Regions from separate parts of the Homo sapiens genome. Here region 2 is linked to region 1. Evidence: promoter capture Hi-C in 16 types of primary human blood cells and fetal thymus (Javierre and others, 2016). All regions are on one chromosome and are shown on one strand. Each heading gives the region's core, a stretch centred on a gene start or on the middle of the fragment in contact. The rest is flanking DNA. Distances are from core to core; before and after follow the strand shown.

Region 1 (4,551 bases), core at 1,756-4,255:
TTCCTCCCCGAGGGAGGGTTATTTTGTTCGCTGCTGCACGCCAGCACCAAGAACAAGACCTGGCACTTGTCAGGACTCAACAAATCCATGCAGAATGAACGATGAAATGTTTTAGATGAGGATGTGTTCAATCCAACTGTTCTGGAGGGGCTCCTTCTTTATCCCATGGCTCAGAGGCACATTTCCTCATTCTGAGTGGCAAGCGCTCCCAGTTTTGGAAGAAAAAAATGTGTTACACTTAGGGAATGTGGGGGAAAGAAGCAGCAATGACTCTTCCCCACTTGCTTGGCATCACAAGATACTTTTTGACTTCTGAGCCCATGTCATGCATGTAGTGTGTCATGTGCCCACATCATGAGATCTTTTCTTGATTCCTGATGAGTTAATTTGATTTTATTCCCACTAAGTGTCCTCTGATTTAATGAGGGTGGTCTTCAGTGGCCTGCACTTGCCTAGACAATGCTGCTCTCCCTGCCTGAACAGATCCTTCTCATCCCTCAAAGCCCAGCTTGGGTGAAACCTCTTTTTTGACATTAGCCTTCATTTAATGGTTTGAAAGCCAAGGCCAGGTCTTTTTTTTTTTTTTTTTTTTTTTTTTTTCCCATTCAGAGGCAGCCTTTCCAGCAATGTGGGGCCAGGGAATGGATGTCTATGAAGTCTATTGAAGTGGCCTAAGAGAAACAATAAGCTGATTTCAAAGCATATACAGCAATTTTAAAAGAATGTACAATAGTGTATCATCTTTCACTAAGTCACAAATGCCAATCACCAATTCATTTAACTCTGTATTTCCTCTAGGTTCTCAGGAAAACATTTACTTTCTTTCATCTATAGCAATTTTAGGCACAAAAAGCTACATGCTTGGCCTGACCATGGTCCTCCGATGACAAGTTGTTGGTCTTTAAAAGCACATTTTGCTAGTTACTGACATTACTGAGCTTACTTAAAAGAGAGCTACCTTGTTATTCTCTGAGAGTATCCCAAGCCACCTTGTTTACCTACCATTACAATGTTTAGTATGATAAGCCCGCATATAAACCCTAGCTTGTCCCAGGCACTCTTGTAAGCTGATTGCATTTATTCACTCATTACTCTGCAAAACAACTTTACTACTATGATCCCCATTTCACAGATGAGGAAACAGGCACAGAAAGAGGATGAGTAAAAGTAAAGCTGGTAAGTTCCAGAGTCAGGATTCGGACCTAGGTGCTCCTGAGACCATGTGCCTAACTACTAGCCAGCTTGCCTCACACCTTTGTCCTCCTCCACCTCCTCCATACCTGTCTGCCCACCCCTTGCCCCGATCTTTCCTTTTCATGGCCAGAGAAAGATCCTGCTGCCTCACTCTAAAATCATCTCCCAAATCAACGAAGCTAAATTTCTTCCAATTGGGATGAAACCACCTTAATGTTCTTTCTTAATTCTTTGCACACTCTAGCTGATACTGATTATTCACTTATTGGCTAGCCCCTGCTATTCCATGCTTTGATCAGACACACCCATCTCTTAATGTTCTGTTTTCTTCTCTCTGAATTCCTGAACAGAATATTTACAAATATAAAGTCCAACAAGAAAATGGTGTGATCTAAATGGGGTTTCGGAAACATAAATCTGGTGGTGGCATCTGAGGAGGGAAAGGGAGGGTGTGTGGGTGAGAAAATGGGTGTGTAGAACTGTTAGAAACTTCCACTTTTGAAGTCACAAAATGCTGTAAGAGCTTTGGGAATGGAAAGGAAGGGGTGGATTCAAAATGCATTTTAGAAAGAACAATGGGTTGGACTTGTGGGCAATTGCCTCTAGGGATAAGGTAGAGAAGGGAGTTAAAATGATACCGCTATTTTGGGCTCAAATGATTATAATGAGAGTTTCATCACCTGAAATAGGTACATCAGGAAGCTAATCTGATTCAGGGAGAACAAAAAGTTCATTTTAGAATCTTTGTCATCATCCCTGTTCAACAGTTGGAAGCCACCATAAGTGAGCATTTAATGAGCCCCATTCAAGTGTCTAACAGAGCATATGATGTTAAATGTCCAACAATAATTAACTGAAGGTGAATACACCTTTTATTCTGGCCCCACGGAGGTGCCTACCAGGGTATTTGATGCGTAAGATCCTCCCCAGCCCTCCTCTACAGGGATGGAATTGGGGGTATGATTTGAATGTAAGAAATACGACTTAAGGCCGGGCACGGTGGCTCACACCTGTAATCCCAGCACTTTGGGAGGCCAAGGCAGGCAAATCATCTGAGGTCAGGAGTTTGAGACCAGCCTGGCCAACATGGTGAAACCCTGTCTCTACGAAAAATACAAAATTAGCATGGCATGGTGGAGCGCGCCTTTAATCCCAGGTACTCAGGAGGCTGAGGCAGGAGAATCGCTTGAACCCAGGTGGCGGAGGTTACAGTGAGCCCAGACCATGACATTGCACTCCAGCCTTGGCAACAAGAGCGAAACTCCATCTGAAAAATAAAGAAATATATATAAATAAAAATTAAAATAAATAAAAGAAGAAATACCACTTACTACATAGCCTAACCCCACGCAATAGCAAATATATTTTCTTTATCACACCTAAAAATCGTCAGAAAATGGCAAAATTAGTCATGTTATGTGCTTGATTTCCAGATTTGGTCTTACTTCATATTAATTTCTTAAGTAACCAACTCAAACGATCTTGAACTCCCACCCATTTGTTTCTTCAAAGTCCTGAACAATGCCAGAAGAGAGTCTACAGATCAGACAGTGCAAACAGAAAGCTTCTTGGAATTCAGCCATTAAAATCAGGCACTCAAGGTAGAATAGCAGGAGTAAAAGCTGAAAGACCTACACACTCAGCACAGAGCCAAGGCAGCTCAATCGCAGGGCCTAGAGTGGTGCGTTCAAAGAGTGTGAGATTGGTAGACAATCGCTCATGAAACAGTGTTTCGAAAATCTAAGCGACTCTGATGATTCATATTAGGAATTCATCCCAAACCTCAGATTGGTACACCTTCCTTGATTTCACACAAGCTCAGGAGTAGCTGCCATGCACATCAGTGTCCATTAAAATGACTTGTAGCAAATCTCTACGTTCAAAGTCTAACTTTGACAGACAACCTTACTTCCAGCGAAGTCTACTCCCCTCCCTCCGGAGGGAAGAATGGGCTGCGGTTAAGCGTTTGCCCTGGTGTCAGGGCCAACTGCTTCGAAGCGCCAGACTTTCGGAGACTGTGGGTAAGAGAAAAAAAAAATCCAGTCCGGGTTTTGTCTGAGCGGGGGGACCGGAGGGTTGTGAGGAATGGCTCGCGAAGAGGGGGGCGGTGGTGGAAAACATACAACACAAACAGCTCGCGCCGAGGCACGGCAGCGGTAGGCCCGGAGCGCGCGGGCGCAGCCGGCCGGGAGAGGCGCGCGCGGGCTCGGCCGCCGGCCGCATGGAGCGCAGCGCGGCCCGCGGCTCCCGGGCGGCGGCGGCGGCGGCGGAGGCGGCAGCGCGCCGCTCGCTCACACCCACCCCCGCCCGCGGCCGCCGCGCCGCCCCGCCGTAGCCGCCGGCCGCCGGCGTCCCCGCCGGCCGGTCCAGCGAAGGCGGCGCCCGCGCCTCTGCAGCCAGTGGCAGCCGCGGGTCCTGGCCGGCGGCTCCTGCAGCCCCTTGCGGCCGCGAGTCCCCGGCCCTGCGGCCACCGGCGGAGGCAGAGGAGGAAGAGGAGGTGACAAACTCTCCGGCCCCGCGCCGCGGCCCGCAACCCCGCGCTCAGGCATGCAGGCGCGGCGTCTAGCCAAGCGCTCCAGCCTGGGCAGCCGCCGGGGGGGCGCCGCGCTGCAGCCTGCCGGGCCGGCGCCCGCGCCCGCCAAGGAAGCCGCCCTACCCGGGCTCCCGCCCCCTGTCCCGGGCCCGGCCCCGGCGCCCGCCCCGGAGAGCTGGAGGCCGCCGCTGCCGCCGCCGCCGCGCAGCGCCGGGACCGGCCCCCCTCGGGCCACCGGGGCCGCCGCCGCCGCCTCGTCGCCGGTGCTGCTGCTTCTAGGGGAGGAAGACGAGGACGAGGAGGGCGGGAGCAGGCGGCGGAGGGGGCTCGGGCGTGTGGAGGAGAAGCCCCGAGGGGGCGCGGAGGAGGAGGATGACGACGAGGAAGAGGAGGACGAGGAGGTGGTCGTCGAGGTGGTGGACGGCGACGAAGACGACGAGGACGGCGAGGAGCGTTTCGTGCCCCTCGGACCCGGCCACGCAGTCCCCAGGGGCCCGGCCCGGGGCGCGTTGAAGGTGCGTGTTGGGCGCGGTGGCGCGCGTGGGACCCGCCAGCCCGGGGAGGGGGACGGGCCCGGGCCCCGGGGCAAGGCGCCTGGCCGAGGACGGTCAGCGGCGCCGGGGAGAGACCCGGCCAGGAGGGGTGTGTCAGGCGGCGCGGGCGGCCGCGCGGGGCAGCGCGAGGAACTGTTGATTTGCCTGCGCCTTGGGCCCCTGCGTCTCTCCCAGGCGGCGGCTCCCGCTTTCCTCAAAGGCCGTGTCGGGTTTGTTGTTTGGTGTGGGTGCCGGGAAAGGGCGCTTCTCCCCAGTGAGGTGGGGAACTTG
Region 2 (4,352 bases), core at 626-3,125, 800 kb after region 1:
AGAAGTCTGCACACCTGTCTGAACATCAAACATGGTTGGTCGATGGAATGAATAATGTGTCCTCCGTGTGTTTGCACTCTTTGTATTTCTACGTAGAAGCTTTTAGGACCAATACATTATGAATCCATTAAAAGTTCTTGTGGCTTTTGGCCACTATGTATTTTCTTAATCACCAGACAAGTAATACAGACAAGAAGGACTGATATAAAAAGGAATCCTACCCAGAGAGGTTGGGAATACTGATTTGAAAAGAGTGAAAAATATCTCTGATATTTATCCAAAATGCCATCATGGGGCAAACGGGAAAGTAATGAGATTTTATCTATGGGCAGGATGTTCCTAAGAAGTAATTAAAGCGAAGGTTAGGATGAGGACAGTGGCTGAAACAAAATGAAGCCTTTTATTAGGGAGTTTTAAACTCCTTTGACACAACCAACCCATATTCAGAAATGCCTTATACCTCCTTACCTGCAATCCTCACAAATATAAGAATCTATCAATAACTGAAGCAAAATTTTATGAACCAGAACTTCTCCTTACTATATGTGATGTACTCTGACATTTTATACTATTTGATGCCATTTCTTCTTTTAAAGTGCTCATCTGGTTCTGCTAACTGGATTTTACAACCCATAGTGTGAAAACACCAATTTATAATAGTTTCAGAATCTGGAACATAAGCTTTGTTTGTCTTTTTAGTTCACCTCTGTTTCCCCAAGCACCAAGAATAGTGCTTGACATTATATGGCTCAAAAACTTTGTGGAATGCATGAATGAATGAATGACACTGGTAAGGAGTCGTTCACACTCCAGTTCATTTTACGGATGTGAAGATTGAGGCTGAGAGACATATGTGATGTTCTCAACTCACAAAGTTTAGTTAGGCTAAGATAGGACTAGCACTCATCTCTTAATTCTTAAGCTAGTGGTTTGGTTTTTTGTTTTTTTTAGACCGCAACATCTCAGCCTCTCTGGTAATGGATATTATAGAACAGATTAACTATTCAAGGCTTAAGTTCTCCTTTGGTCAAGTGTTTTACCGTGGGAATAATTTGTTGATACTTTATACGCCACTTGGATCTCAACATTCTATTCCATCTTTGGGCTGAACATTATGAGGACCAGGGTCTCACAGCTGGGGTCTTTTGTTGCATTATCTCTTCCATTCTGTGAACACCCTTAAGGATAATATCCCAAATGTTATTTACATAGCACCTATCTTCCTCTTAAGAATTTTTTTTTTTTTTTTTTGAGACAGAGTCTTGCTCTGTCGCCCAGGCTGGAGTGCAGTGGTGCAACCTTGGCTCACTGCAACCTCTGCTTCCCGGGTTTAAGCGATTCTTCTGCCTCAGCCTCCCAAATACCTGGGACTATAGGTGCGCGTCACCACATCGTGCTAATTTTTGTATTTTTAGTAGAGACGGGGTTTCACCATATTGGCGAGGCTGGTCTTGAACTCCTGACCTCGTGATCCGCCTGCCTCGGCCTCCCAAAGTGCTGGGATTACAGGCGTGAGCCACTGGGCCGGGCCAGAATTTTCTTTTTTAAAAAAAACTTTTGGCTGGGCGCAGTGGATCATGCCTGTAATCCCAGCACTTTGGGAGTCTGAGGCGGGCAGATCACTTGAGCTCATGAGTTTGTGACCAGCCATCATGGTGAAACCCCATCTCTACCAAAAGTAAAAGAATTAATCGGGCATGGTGGCACACGTCTGTGGTCCCAGCTACTTGGGAGGCTGAGGTAGGAGGATTACTTGAGCCCAGGAGGGGATTGCAGTGAGCTGAGATCACACCACTGCACTCCAGCCTGGGTGACAGAATGAGACTCCATCTCAAAACAAACAAACAAAAAACCCTTTTATTTGAGGTTCAGGGGTGCATGTACAGGCTTCTTATATGGGTAAACATGTGTCATAGGGGTTTGATGTACAGATTCTTTCATCATCCAGATACTAAACCTGATACACAGTAGTGATTTTTTTTCCCTTTTTTTGCTCCTCTTCCTCCTCCCACCCTCCACCCTCTGGTAGGCCCCAGTGTCATTTGTTCCCCTCTTTGTGTCCATGTGTTCTCATCATTTTGCCCCCACTTATAAGTGACAAGGTGCCCTGTTTGGTTTTCTGTTCCTGTGTTAGTTTGCTAAGGATAATGGCCTCCAGCTCATCCATGTTCTTGCAAAGGATAGGATCTTGTTCTTTTTTATGGCTGCATAGTGTTCCATGGCATATATGTACCACATTTTCTTTATTCAGTCTATCATTGATGGGCATTTAGGTTGATTCCACCCTTTGCTATTGTGAATAGTGCTACAATGAACTTACGCATGCATGTGTCTTTGTGATAGAATGGTTTATATTCCTTTGGGTGTATACCCAGTAATGGGATTGCTGGGGAGAATTTTCTAATGTACAGGAAGATGCAGACTTGGCTTATGGCACCTTTGGTTATTTCTATTGACTTAAGGAATTATGAGCAATGGAAAAATCTGACATTTTAGTTTAACACGATCATATTTGATACTCTAGAAAGACTGAAAAATCAAACTGAAATTCCTTAGCTCATAGTTCTTTTCATTCTGTTTTACCCTTTTTGATTTTCACTCTGTGTCATTCTCACTTCTTTTTAGAGAAGTGGTTACCACTTCTTAAAAGTTTTTCATGATTGCATCAGTCTTAAATAGCAAACATGGCTGTGGTTTACAAAATAAAAACTGGAGTCAAATTGAAGAGATGTAGAATTTCCTTATTCCTAGAGAGGAAATTTAAGGATGGAAGAGACTTCCTCTCTGGGGATTCTGAGATTTCTGCATGGCTGACCTTTGTCACTCTTTTCTGGAATGTCCCAGTTACTAGTTTTATACTCAATTTTGGGGCAGGGGAGCAGAGCAGTGGGGAGAGGAGATGGCTCTGAAGTAATTGACTGAAGATTTTTTCTTTTAAAAAAAAATGAAAGAGATTTAAGGGTCCATTTAGAAATACCTGGAAGGACCAAGTAAAGCATTTGAAAATACTGTGTTTTACCTTGAGGATCGTTTCTTCTTTGTCCACTCTTTCTGTGAAGTGAAGCTTTGGGAGGTAACCTTCTGTCTTGGGTGGGGACATTGACCACTGTTCAGGGTCCTGCTTTCAGAGCTGAGTCCCAGGAGCACTTTGCACCCGATGTGGCTCCCAAGCGCTCCTTTCCCTTTTTGTCTTAGTGCAGCCCCTCCCCTCCTGCTCTGTTTCCTTTACTCTTTAATAACCCAGACATTGGCCAGGCGTGGTGGCTCACGCCTGTAATCCCAGCACTTTGGGAGGCCGAGGCAGGCGGATCATGAGGTCAGGAGATTGAGACCATCCTGGCCAACATGGTGAACCCTGTCTCTACTAAAATACGAAAAATTAGCCAGGTATGGTGGTGGGCGCCTGTAGTCCCAGCTACTCGGGAGGCTGAGGCAGGAGAATTGCTTGAACTTGGGAGGCAGAGATTGTAGTGAGCCAAGATCGCGCCACTGCACTCCAGCCTGGTGACAGACCAAGACTCCATCTCAAAAAATAAAAAAAAATAAAAAATAACCCAGACATTGTCCCCTTACGCTTGTGAGGAGCTTGGGTCTTCCCTTAAATGGAGTGGATCAAGTTTTCTCAGTTTTTTTCTTCCCTGCTACCTTGACTACAATTACCCAACTCGTTTTCCCCCTAAGGTTTTACTGTTCTTGCCATGGGCACACATGGGAAAATTCCAGCCTTAAGAATCTAAAGTTGTCACGGCCTGAGCTGCTGCATCCCTCTCTTCTGAAGGCACTCAGTGGCAGACAGCATCCTCTTAGATGCTCCCTCGCCTTAAGTCAGTGGTTCTCAACCACAGTTTTGCCCCACTGTGGGCATTTGACCATGTTTGTAGATACTCTTTTGGTTGTTACAACTGGGTGTGGGTGTGGGGCTGCTACTGACATCTGGTGAGTGGGCCTGAGATGCTACACAGGAAGATGCCCAGGGCAGTCCCTGCCACAGTCATCCACCGCATGACGCCCGTGGTGCCGTGCCTGAGAAGCGCTGCCTTAACTGGATGCTTAATCTTTTGGGTCTCCCGAAGACAACCATTGTGGTGTGGGGACTTGCAAATATTCCTCCCACTTCTGGGATTTTATTACATCCAGAAACAACAAGGCACAGAGAATGGGAGCCCCAGGCACAGACTTAACATGGGGAAAAAACATCCTGTGATCTTTCTGGATGTTACCACTAAAGATACTTTGAATTATATGTTTAAATCTCTTTTTATGCCTCTAGGTTTAAAAAGGGGGATGCATATTTCCTCTTGTTTGTGCTTAAATAAAACAGTCATAGATACTGAAGTTTCTTACCGCGACTC

What was found. Contacts are between HindIII fragments. The CHiCAGO score rates a contact against its expected background, and 5 or more counts as called.
Region 2: a contact is called between a fragment that was not itself captured here and the fragment with the promoter of ZNF704 in region 1, in 1 of 17 cell types (fetal thymus). The highest score is 6.3, in fetal thymus.

The regions. Positions count from the first base shown.
Region 1 is chr8:80,873,235-80,877,785 of GRCh38, reverse strand. ZNF704 (zinc finger protein 704) reads left to right here and starts at 3,005. Exons shown (of 9, transcript NM_001033723.3): 1 at 3,005-3,215. RefSeq lists a silencer at 4,126-4,326. The HindIII fragment of the contact is 1,917 bases long and covers 2,761-4,551 here.
Region 2 is chr8:80,074,174-80,078,525 of GRCh38, reverse strand. The region is part of intron 1 of TPD52-MRPS28 (TPD52-MRPS28 readthrough); the gene reads left to right. The region is part of intron 1 of TPD52 (tumor protein D52); the gene reads left to right. Among named protein-coding and RNA genes, the nearest start is that of MRPS28, 46 kb to the right of the region's middle. The HindIII fragment of the contact is 2,383 bases long and covers 684-3,066 here.